Regions from separate parts of the Homo sapiens genome. Here region 2 is linked to region 1. The links are contacts of gene promoters, found by promoter capture Hi-C in blood cells and fetal thymus (Javierre and others, 2016). All regions are on one chromosome and are shown on one strand. The core of a region is centred on a gene start or on the middle of the fragment in contact, and the rest is flanking DNA. Distances in the headings are between cores, read along the strand shown. Region 1 holds the start of CCDC13 (coiled-coil domain containing 13). Region 2 has its middle 5.8 kb from the start of SNRK.

Region 1 (5,817 bases), core at 365-2,864:
CAGTTACTCAGGAGGCTGAGGTGGGAGGATTGCTTGAGCCCAGGGGTTGGAGGCTACTGTGAGCCATGATCATGCCACCGCACTCCAGCCTGGGTGACAAAGTGAGACCCTGTCTCAATACAGCAGCAGCAACAACAACAACAGATGAACTCTAATGTAAACTATGGACTTTAGTTAGTAATAACATACCAGTATAGTTGTATCAATGATAACAAATGTACCACACCAATGCAATGTGTAAGATGTTAACAACAGAGGAAATGGGAATACGGAATACATAAAGGAACTGTTTTTTGTTTAATGCTTCTAAAAATCTGCTTTAAGTCTATTTTCTTTTAAAAGTAAAGGCTAAGCCGGGCGTGGTGGCTCATGCGTGTAATCCCAAAACTTTGGGAGGCTGAGGTGGGTGGATCACCTGAGGTCAGGAGTTTGAGACCAGCCTGGCCAACATGGTGAAACCCCATCTCTACTAAAAATACCAAAATTAGCCAGGCATGGTGGCGGGCGCCTGTAATCCCAGCTACTCGAGCCCAAGGCAGGAGAATCGCTTGAACCTGGGAGGCAGAGGTTGCAATGAGCCAAGATCGCGCTACTGCACTCCAGCCTGGGCGATAGAGCGAGACTCCGTCAAAAAAAAAAAAAAAAAAAAAAAGTAATAATAAAAAAAATAAAGTAAAGGCTAGAGCTGCATGGAAAGAACTCTTGGCTCAGGTAGGACTTAGAGCCAGGGAGTAGGAAGAGTGGCATGCACTCTGGAGTCCTATGAGGAAGCAAGATCCCACAGGATATGGGACCATAGGTGACAGGGACCAGTGAGGAAGGATTGAGACCCCTTGCCCCATCGGCCTGCCACTTTTTTCATTGTTTTTCTCTTCCCCTCTCCTTCTCTTTCTTCTTTTCTTTTACTGTGTTCTTTTCGAGTATTCTCAACAACAGTCTAGGGGCCTGGAGGTGTGGGGAGGCCGCCCACGGATGCCTAGTTTGGCGCTCTGTGCACTGCTAGCATCTTCGTAGGGATGGGTTTGGGATGGGAGCGGGGTGATGCTCTGGTTCTCAGGGCTGGACTCCGGGCTTGGAGGGGAACTCCCTCTTGCGAGTCCCCAGTCCTGTGGGGGCTGGGCCTGGAAGGGGAACTGGGAGATGCGGAAGTGCACGCCGTCGGGTCGCATCTTTCAGTGCGGTGCGAGAGGGCCCAGTGGCAGAGGCCCAGCAAACAGCGCTTGTCAGGCGGACCTGAGTTCGAGTTCTGACTGTGCCATCTACGCTATGACTTTGGGGCAGGCGACCCACCCTCTGCGCCTCATTAACCCATGTACTGCATGGAAAATAAGCGTCTGCCTGGGTTAGAAGAGGGCTGTGTGTGAAGATTCAAAGGACGAAGGGGAAGAGTCCTCGCTGGGCGCCCAGCACGCGGTGAGCGCCCGGCCAGTGGCAGCGCGCTCGGGCTGGGGTTGCGCTCGGGCTCGGTTCCGCGCCCCCGGCAGCTGCGGGCTTTCCCAGCTCCGGCCCGGGCCCTTCCGCTCTCCCCGGCACTTACAGCGGTCTCTCTCCACTTCTCCCTTCTAGGACCGCGGCGGCTAGGTCACCTCCTCCGGACGCCGACACGCGCTGCCCTGGCAACCGTCACCAGGGAAACAAGCGACGTCACTTGCGCGTTTTCAACGCTACTCTACGGGGGCCGAGGGGGCGCCAAGAGTTCTGAAAGTGACAGAGGCGCTGATGGCGCGCTGGGCTGGATCCAAGCGAGCACGATCTCGAGTGCGCTGGAGATTTTAAATCTTCTGGAGTATATTTTTAAAAAAGTTTTGTGGACCAAACGTTCTGCACAGAGATGCCCATTCCGCTCTCCTGTTGGGGAGTTAAAAAGCGAACGATCTCACCATGAAATTTAAAGTAGCCATTCAGATATATTTGAAAAATGTAAAACAGTGTGGGGAAAGGCCATGTTATGATGGTGAGTGAAGGAAGCAGGACGCAATATAGCAATGCTAAATAAATAAAGTTGTGTTTATTTCAAACTAGGCACTAAAACAAGACCGAAATAGAAATATTAAAAGTGGTTATATTTGGGTGGTGGAATAGCAGTGCTGTGTTTTTATTTTTACACTTTAGAGAATTTTTAAAATAATGAACATCGTTTATTTTCATAAAGGAAAATACTTGTTTTTTTTTTTTTAAATGGCACCTTCCAATGTAAGACACTACTATATTTCAGGGCAATATGGGGGTGGGAGGCAAATTTCTAGGAAAGATGATTCAAGGGAGATTTCTTTCTATCTATCTATCTATCTAATCTATCTATCTATCTATGATAGAGTCTCGCTGTGTCGCCCAGGCTGGAGTGCAGTGGTGCGATCTCAGCTCATTGCAACCTCCATTTCCCAGGTTCAAGCGATTCTCCTGCCTCAGCCTCCTGAGTAGCTGGGATTACAGGCACCCGCCACCACACCTGGCTAATTTTTTTATTTTTAGTGGAGACGGGGTTTCACCATGTTGACCAGGCTGGTCTTGAACTCCTGACCTCAGGTGATCCGCCCACCTTGGCCTCCTAAAGTGCCGGGATTACAGGCGTGAGCCACAGCTCCTGCCCAAATATTTATCCAGGACTTCATAATTTGAAAACCTTGGCAGTTGTTTTTCTATTTTTTTTCCTCATAAGGTGAATGAATACCCATCCCATAGACATGCATACATAAGATACGGCACTAGACTGCCATCAGCACTGCAGGTATAAACCCGAAGTTTCCTGATAAAGGAAAAATGGATCTTTCCCGTTGGTCTCCAATTGCTGCCTGGTGAGCTGAGGGTGGGAGACGTATAATATACAGGTGGCAGCAAAGAGAGACAGGATAAAGAGTAGGATTCAGGTAGATGTGAGCCTCAAAGGATTAGGGTTTTTTTTAAATGGTGTGTGTAGTGGGGAGTATCATTCGTTTGCCTCATGACCACGATGGGACTATGTGGCATAGGAAAAGGAATAGCCAGGTCTACTTAGAGGGCTTCTGGAAAGCATGGATCCTAGCAGAAAGCCAGGTTTTCATTAAAATAAGAACATGCTGTGAGAAAATTAAGGATGCAAGAGAATTTCAGAACCGACATTCTAGAATGTATGTATTAGAAAGTTTGGGAAAGGGGTAACATTTGCTCCAGCAATCCAAGGATTATTTTTGACGAGGATATCATTTTTGCAGTAACCCATTTTTTAAAAAGCAGGGATGATTTTCCTCTAGGTTTGTTACTTTTCCACGGTCACCACTAAGGCTCTCATGCCATTTTTTTTTTCTGCCCAAAATTCTTTTGAGAATTTTCTTTAGTTTATAAGCTTGACATTTTATCATCCAAGAAGCTGGCGAATCCAATCTGGGTCACCAGTATTTCCTCATGTACAGTATACAGATGTTTGTTAATTCCAGCCCACTTTGTTTCTCTAGCCAGAAGTATCTGTAGGACACTGCCCTTTGTTTTTTGCTTTTTAATTTGAAATTATATTGAGATTTTTATAGAATCACATGCAGTTGTAAAAAATAATAGAGATCCCCTGTATACTTTTCCAGTTCTCCACAATGATATTTTGCAGAACTTTAGTATAATATTACAACCAGGATATTGACATCGATACAACCTACTCCTCTTAGATTTCTCCAATTTAACTGTACTTTTCTTTTGATTTATCACGTGTCAGTTTGTGTATCCATGACCATCAAGATATCAAATACTAGCCGGGCATGGTGACTCATGCACGCCTATAATCCCAGCATTTTGGGATGCTGAGGCAGGCAGATCACTTGAGGCCAGGAGTTCAAGACCAGCCTGGTCAACATGGCAAAATCCTATATCTACTAAAAATAACAAAAATTAGCCAGGCATAGTGGTGCTTGCCTGTAATCCCAGCTACTTGGGAGGCTGAGGCATGAGAATCGCTTGAACTCAGGAAGTGGAGGTTGCAGTGAGCTGAGATCGCGCCATTACACTCCAGCCTGGGCGACAAGAGTGAGACTCTGTCTCAAAAAAAAAAAAAGATACCAAATACTATCACAAGGATCTCTCTGTTGTGATTTTATGACTATGTACACTTCCCTCCCTCCTCCTGCCCTAGTCCCTAACCCTTTACAACCACCAGTCTGCCCTCCATTTCTAAAATTTTGTCATTTCAAAAATGTTATATAAATGAAATAACTCAGCATGTACACTTTTTAGGATGGATTTTTTTTTTTTTTTACTCAGAACAATTCCTTGGAGATTCATCCAAGTTGTTGTGTGTATCAATAATCCATTCCTTTTTATTGCTGAGTAGTTCTAGTATGAATGTACCAGTTTGTTTAACCATTTACCCACTGAAAGACATCTGGGTTGTTTCCAGTTAGGAGCAATTATGATTCAGCTGCTATAAACATTCATGTATAGGTTTTTGTGTGAACATAAGTTTTCATTCCTATGGAATAAATGCCCAAGAGTGCAATTGCTGTGTAGTATGGTAACTGCATATCTAGTTTTAGAAGAAATTGCCAAACCTGTTTTCCAGAGTGACTGTTCCACTTTACATTCTTACCAGAAATGTTTAAGTGACACAGTTTCTTCACATCCTTGCCAGCATTTGATGTCACTATTTTTATTTTAGTCATTTTAATAGGTGTGTAGTGATATCATTGTGGTTCTAATGTACGTGACGGATAATGATATTGAACATCTTTTTCATGTGCTTATTTGTCATCTGTATATTTTCTTTGGTGAAGTGTCTGTTCATGTCTTTTGCCCAATTTCTAACTGTCGAGTTTTGAGAATTCTTTATATATTCTATATACTAGTCCGTTGTTGGATACGTAGTTTGCAAATACTTTCTCCGAATCTGTAGTTCATCTTTTAATCCTCTTCACTTGGGCTTTCACAGAACAAAAGGCTTTGATTTTGACAAGGTCCAATTTATCAATTCCTTCTTTAATGGATTGTGCTTTTGATTTCAAGTCTAAGAAAGAACTCTTTGCCTAGCCCTGGGTCCCAAAGATTTCCCCCCATTTTTATAAAAGTGTTAGAGTTTTATGCCCATGATTTATTTTGATGTAATTTTTATATAAAGGTATGAAATTTAGATCAAGGTTCTTTTTTGCTTTTTTGCCTATGGTGTCCAGTTGTTCCAGCACCATTTGTTGGAAAGCTATGCTTCCTCCATTGAATTGCTTTTGCACCTTTGTCAAAAATCAGGTTAGCTATCTCAACAACAAAACCCAATTCAAAAATGGGCAAAGGACTTCAATAGACATTAATCCAAAGAAGATATACAAATGGCAAATAAGCACATGAAAACATGCCCAACATCACTAACCATTAGAGAAATGCAAACCAAAACCACGAGATACCATTTCACACCCATTAGGATGGATATTATCCAAAAAATGGAAAATAACAAGTGTTTGCCAGGATGTGAAGAATTTGGAACCCTTATGTAGAGCTAGTGGGAATGTAAAATGGTATATCCACTGTAGAAAACAGTTTGGTGGTTCCTCAAAAAGTTAAACATTGAATTACCGTATGATTTACAATTCCACTTCTAAATATATGCCCGAAAGATTTGAAAGAAGGGACTTGGCCAGACACAGTGTCTCATGCCTGTAATCCCAGCCCTTTGGGAGGCTGAGGTAGAGGACTGCTTGAGGCCAGGAACTCGAGACCAGCCTGGTCACCATAGCGAGACCTTGTCTCTACAAAAAAAGTAATAATAAAAAATAAAGAAGGGACTCAAACAGGTAATTGTATGCCAGTGTTCATAGCAGCATTATTCACGATAGCCAGAAGGTAGAAACAACCCAAGCAACCTTCAAC
Region 2 (6,626 bases), core at 3,706-6,205, 510 kb after region 1:
TGAAGCTACCAGAAGTTGGTTCATGAGGTTTTTTTTTTTTAAGCCATCTCCATAACAGTACAAGTGCTGATGGAGAAGCTACAGCAAGTTAGAAGATTTGGCAAAGATTATTGATGAAGCTGGTTACTTTAACAACAGATTTGCAATATAGAAGAGACAGCCTTTCATTGGAAGAAATTGCCATAGACATCATCCATTGTGCAACCCATGGATCAAGGAGTAATTTTTACTTTCAAGTCTTATTGTTTAAGAAGTATATTATGGAGCCTGGGCAATATAGGGAGACCTCATCAGCATGAAAAATAAAAATTAGCGGGGCATGGTGGCACATGCCTGTGGTCCCAGTTATTCAGGAGGCTGAGGCAGGAGGATCTCTTAAGTCTGGGAGGCCAAGGCTGCAGTGAGCCATGATCATGCCACTGCACTCCAGCCTGGTTGACAGAGCAAGACTCTGTCTCCCCTCAAAAAAGAAGAAGAAGGAGGAGGAGGAGGAGGAGAAGGAAGGAAGGAAGGAAGGAAGGAAGGAAGGAAGGAAAGAAAGAAAGAAAGAAAGAAAGAAAGAAAGAAAGAAAGAAAGAAAGAAAAAGAATATTTTGTAAGGCTATAGCTGCCATAGATAGTGATTTCTCTGGTGGAAATTGAAAACCTTCTAGAAAGGATTCACTATTTTAGATATCATTAAGAACATTCATATGGTCAAGCACAGTGGCTCATGCCTGTAATCCCAGCATTTTGGAGGCCAAGGAGGGAGGATCACATGAGCCCAGGAGTTTGAGACCAGCCTGGGCAACAGGGCAAGACCCCATCTCTACAAAAATTTTTTTAAAATTGCAAGATGTGGTGGCACGAGCCTGTGGTCCCAACTACTCGAGAGGCTAAGGCAAGAGGATCACTTGAGCCTAAGAGATCAAGGCTACAGTGAGCCTTGTTTGCACCAATGCACTCCAGCCTGGGTAACCAGAGCAAGACCCTGTACCAAAACAAAACAAAACAAAACAAAACAAAACAAGAAGAATATTCACGATTCATGGGAGGAGGTCAAAATATAGACATTAACAGGAGTTTGTGAGAAGTCGATTCCAACCCTCATGGATGACTTTGAGGGGTTAGAGACTTCAGTGGAGGAAGTCTCTTCAAATATGGTGGACACAGCCAGAGAATTAGAATCAGAAGTAGAGCCTGAAGAAGTGACTGAATTGCTATAATATCAAGATAAAACTTGAATGGATGAGGAGTTGCTTCTTATGGATGAGCAAAGAAGTGGTTTCTTAAAATGGAACCTACCCTGATGAAGATGCTGTTAATATTGTTGAAATGACAACAAAGGATTAGAATACAACATAAACTTAGTTAATAAAGCAGCAGCAGAGTCTGAGAGAATTGATTCCAATTTTGAAAGAAGTCCGACTGTGGGTATCACACACTCAAACGTCATCACCTGCTGCAGAGAATTCTTTCGTGAAAGCACGAGTCAACTGAAGAGACAAACTTCATTGTTGTCTTATTTTAAGAAATAGCCACAGCCACCCCAACCTTCAGCAACCACCAACCTGATCAGTAAGCAGCCATCAACATCGAGGCAAGACCCTCCATCAGCAAAAAGATTATAACTCACTGAAGGCTCAGATGATTGTTAGCAGTTTTTAGCATAAAGTGTTTTTAAATTAAGGTGTGTACATTTTTAAAGATATACACTTAATAGACTACAGTAGAGTGTAAACATAACTTCATATGCACTGGGAAACAAAAAAAGCTGTGTGACTCACTTTAATGAGGTGGTCTGGAACTGAACCTGCAATATCTGTGAGGTGTGCCAGTATTACATATCACAGGAGTGACATCTCATCATATATACAGGTTTCACCCAGACTCAGAGGGGTAGGGATTATACAAGGGCAAGGGTCATTGAGGTTCATTCTTAGAATTCTGCCTATCACAGTTTTCAAAAGCAATGATTTCTTTTTTGAAAATTTTTAAACATTTTAATTTTTGTAGAGATGGGATTTCACTATGTTGCCCAAGCTGATCTCAACCTCCTGGCCTCAAGTAATTCTCCCACCTCAGCCTTCCAAGTTGCATGGATTACAGCGTAAGCCACAGTGCCTGGCAAAAACAATGATTTCAGAACACTAGAAATAGACTAAAATCAAATGAACAAAACAAAACCGAAAAACGAAAAAAGAGAAATATTCGTTCATGAAGAAATTCTAAAACTTCAGATATTAATAGTGGGAGTATGTATTCCATTCCCCAGTCCAACCCTCAGCTCAGTTGGTGAGGTAGTGTTTACCAGGGGATGACTGGCTATGAAAACCAGTAGTGTTGTTTTGAAAGACAGCTCATTTGATTTGGAGTGGAGGGCACAAACCCACGCTCTGTGGTATTATCTGTAAAAGTAGTAAACATGGTAGGAAACAGAGGGGGAAAATACATAGCTTGGCTAGTCTGAGCCTGCAATCCTTGGTGTAAGGAATGAACCAGAAAAAATGTAAAGGGAAGAGCATGTAAAGAAGAGATCCATTGAAGGACTAGATAGATAAGCTTTCCTCACATCCCTGGCTGACTGGGAAGGTAAGCACATGTGCCAGGGAGACCTGAAAGGGTTTAGCAGAAAGTAAAAGCTGAAGTAGGCTTGAAAACTACCTTGCTTTTCAATTCATGCACAGATTCATCAGCAAAGTGTGGAAACCTTATGGGTTTGGACACAATGTCTGCCCGATCATTGGCTGACCATTAAGATATGCAGATACAGAGGCAACCATGGGGAAGCCAGACTAAAAAATATAACTAAGAACAAAACAACTGAGCAGAATCATGTGCTGCACATCATGAGGGAAGATTCTGCGGATTAAGTTCAGGCAAGCTACTAATGAAAGGGGGGGAAAGCTTTCAAAGGAGAAAATCAGAATCCAGAGCTGCTACAACATATAATTTTAAATGTCCAGTTTTTAATAAAAAATACGAGACATGGAAAGAAACAGGAAAATGGGACTCAAGATGAGGGGGAAAAAGCAACTATTAGAAACTGACTGGCCAGGCACGGTAGCTCATGCCTGTAATCCAAACACTTTGGGAGGCCAAGGCAGGTGGATCACCTGAGGTCAAGACCAGCCTGGCTAACGTGGTGAAATCCCGACTCTACTAAAAATACAAAATATTAGCTGGGCGTGGTGGCAAGCGCCTGTAATCCCAGCTACTCAGGAGGCCTAGGCAGGAGAATCGCTGGAACCTGGGAGACAGAGTTGCAGTGAGCCGAGATTGTGCCATTGCACTGCAGCCTGGGCAAGAAGAGTGAAATTCTGTCTCAAAAAAAAAAAGAGAAAAGAAACTGACTATACATATCATATTCATGAATTGAAAGACTCATTATTGTTAAGATGATAATTCTCCCCAGATTGATCTATTCATATAACATAATCTTCATCAAAATTTCAAAAAGTCAACAATTTTTTTTGTGGAAATTGACAAGCTGACCCTATAGTTTACACGGAAATGCAACGTGCCTAGAATAGTAAAACAATCTTGAAACAGAACACTATAGATGGAAGACTTACTCTACTCGTTTTCAAAACTTACTATATAACAATAGTAGTCAAGACTGGATCATAATGGTGTAAGAATAGCCATATAGATCAACAAAAATGAATAGAAAATCCTTACATTAAGTTGATTGCCAACAAATTGCCAAGGCAATTTAATTGGGAAAGGATACCGTTTTCAACAAATGATTCTGGGATGATTAAATATCCATAAGCAAAAATCAAATGAAAAAAAAAGCCCCATAGCCTCTAAACCTCTCATCATGAGTAAAAATAAATTCAAAATGGATCATAGACTTAAAGGCCAAACTTAAAACTATAAAACTTGAAAAGACCAGAGAAGAAAATCTTTGTGACCTTTGCTTAAGCAAAATTCTTAGATATGACACCAAACCAAGGATCATGAAAGAAAAATTGGACAAATTGGAATTCACCAAAATTCAGAACTTTATAACTTCTAAACACATCATTTTAAAAATGAAAAGACAGGCCACAGCCTGGGAGAAAATATTTGCAAATCACATTTCTAATTAAGGACTTATATCCAAAAAGCATAAAAAATTCTTACAACACAATAAGACAAACAACACAATTAAAAATGGGCAAAAGATTTGAAAAGCCCTTTTATCAAAGAAGATATATGAATGACCAAAAATCACATGGAAAGCTAAGGAACATCATTAGTCATTAGGGAAATGCAAATGAAAATCATGAGATACCACTATATATGTATTAGAATGGTAATAATCTAAAAGTCTAACAGTGCCAAGTGTTGGCAGGGATGTGGAAAAACTAGAACCCTCATACACTGTTGGTGGTAATGTAAAGTGGTACAGTCATTTCAGAAATAATTTGTCAGTTTCTTAAAATGTTAAGCATAGAGTTATTGCATGACCCCAAAATTCCACTCAGCAATGTACCCAAGAGAAACGAAAATATGTCCCCACTAAGAGTTTAAACAGTCATAGCAACAGTATCCATAATAGCAAAAATCTGGAAATAAATGAAATGTTTATCACTTGGATGGATAAAGAAAATCTAATATATCCATATAAAGGAATACTGTTCAGCAACAAAAAGGAATGAACTACTGATACATGCTAGATGGAAAAACATTATGCTACATGAAAGAAGTCAGACACAAAAGAGTACACATGGTATGATTCCATTTATATGACATTTCTAGAAAAACACAAATCTATAGAGACAGATAACAGATAGTATGTGTTGAGGGCTGAAAGCTGGAGTGGGATTGATTGCATGTGCACAGGAGAGACCTTTTGGGGTTGATAAAAAAATTTTTTTTTGAGATAGGGTCTCACTCTGTTGCCCAAGCTGGAGTGCAGGGGTGAGATTCCAGCTCACCGCAGCCTCGCCCTCCTGGGCTCAGGTGATCCTCCCACCTTAGCTTCCCAAGTAGCTGGGACCAAGGTGCATGCCCCCATGCCCAGCTAATGTTTTTCATTATTTTTGTGAAGACGGAGTCTCTCTGTGTTGCTCAGGTTGGTCTTGAATTCCTGGCCTGAAGTGATCCTCCCACCTCTGCCTCCCATAGTTTTGGGATTACAGGCGTGAGCCACCTCTCCCAAGCCAGATGAAAATATTTCAAAAGTGGATTGGGGCGATGGCTGCATAACTTTATAAATTTACTAAAAAACCATTGAATCGTCCACCTATTATTGGTGAATTTTATGGTATGCAGATTATATTCAATGAAACTGTTAAACAAAAGTATTAAATCTCCCAATTTAAAAATGTTCTCAACTAATTCAAATTCTTAAAGAACCTATGTGGGGAAAAACAATGCCACAAGTCTGTGGGTGAAAAGCCCTGGGACTGCCTATTTGCAACCTCAGTGCTAGGTGGCAGGAATAGAAATTTAAATAAAATACAATCCTTGTCCCCCCAGAGTTTAAGATCCAAAGGGAGAAAATGGAACAATAAAATTACAAAACTGTATGATACTATGAGTGGGAGGGTATGGGGGTCCCAGAGAACTCCTGGCTCTGACTGGAGTGGGACAGTTAGGAGTAGCACAGAGGATGTGACATGGGAGCTGGATTTTGATGGGTAAGTAGGAATTCAGGAAACTGCGGGTGTAGTAAGTGGAGAAAAGGAGTAGGTGACATTTCCAGACAGAAGGAACAGAATAGGCAAAGACTGGGAATTGTGAAAAGTCAATTCTCTTTGTGAGAACTGGGAAGGCTGGAGACAGGGTACACATGCAGAAAAGAAAGTGCAGGAGAGGAAGCCAGGGACCAGATCAGGAAGGGCTTGGTAGGCTGTATTGACGTTTTTAGATAAGGGATTTATCAGGATTTATTTGCTGAAAGAACAACATGGACATGCTTCTTTTGGCCTAAATTAGACTTTGCATATTTTGGCAAGATCATATTGCACACATTAAAAAATATTCATTAATATACTGCTTACTATATGCCAGCCTTTGTTCTAATACTTTATATAAACTCAATCTCATCAACTCTGGTTCTCAAACTCTAATCTGTCTCAGAATCACCTGCAAGTCTTAAAACAGAGAAATCAGAGTTTCTGATTCAGTAGGTCTGAGGTGGAACTGGAAAATCTGCATTTCAATCCAGTTCCCAGGAGAAGCTGATGCTGCTAGTCCAGGGAGCACACTTTGAGAACCACTGCTTTACATCAAACTTATAAGAAAGGTATTATTATCATCACTGTCTTTCTCATTTTACAGAAGAAACATATAGAAGGTTATGCAACTTTCCCAAAGCCATCTTGCTCTTAGCAGTAGAGATGGGGTTAAATGTCAATGTCTGTCCTATCTTCTAGTTCACTGGTTGCAAACAAGCAGAGTTAAGGACTGGCATTTCCAATTCTTGTTTGCAACTATCAGAAATATCTCTCTCTCACACACACACACACACACACACACACACACACACACACACAGGACCTTAACTGACATCTGAGATAAAAGAGTAGAAGATGTTAACTGATGCCCATAGGGTGGTGAAGGAGTCTTTGAGGAACTCTTTAGGTCATTCCAATTAAGTATTATTTTGATCCTACTGGGGTGAAGCCAGGATCTAGAAATGCACAAGTATAAAT

Evidence for each region. The method cuts DNA at HindIII sites, captures the fragments that hold promoters and counts their contacts. A CHiCAGO score of 5 or more calls a contact.
Region 2: a contact is called between a fragment that was not itself captured here and the fragment with the promoter of CCDC13 in region 1, in 1 of 17 cell types (neutrophils). The highest score is 5.3, in neutrophils.

Annotation. Positions count from the first base shown.
Region 1 is chr3:42,771,639-42,777,455 of GRCh38, forward strand. It overlaps CCDC13 (coiled-coil domain containing 13), which reads right to left and starts at 1,615. Exons shown (of 16, transcript NM_144719.4): 1 at 1,538-1,615. It overlaps CCDC13-AS2 (CCDC13 antisense RNA 2), which reads left to right. Exons shown (of 2, transcript NR_122070.1): 2 at 1,567-1,997. RefSeq lists a silencer at 1,336-1,495 and an enhancer at 1,626-1,795. The HindIII fragment of the contact is 4,325 bases long and covers 1-3,320 here.
Region 2 is chr3:43,277,475-43,284,100 of GRCh38, forward strand. No RefSeq gene overlaps it. Among named protein-coding and RNA genes, the nearest start is that of SNRK, 5.8 kb to the right of the region's middle. The HindIII fragment of the contact is 4,142 bases long and covers 2,885-6,626 here.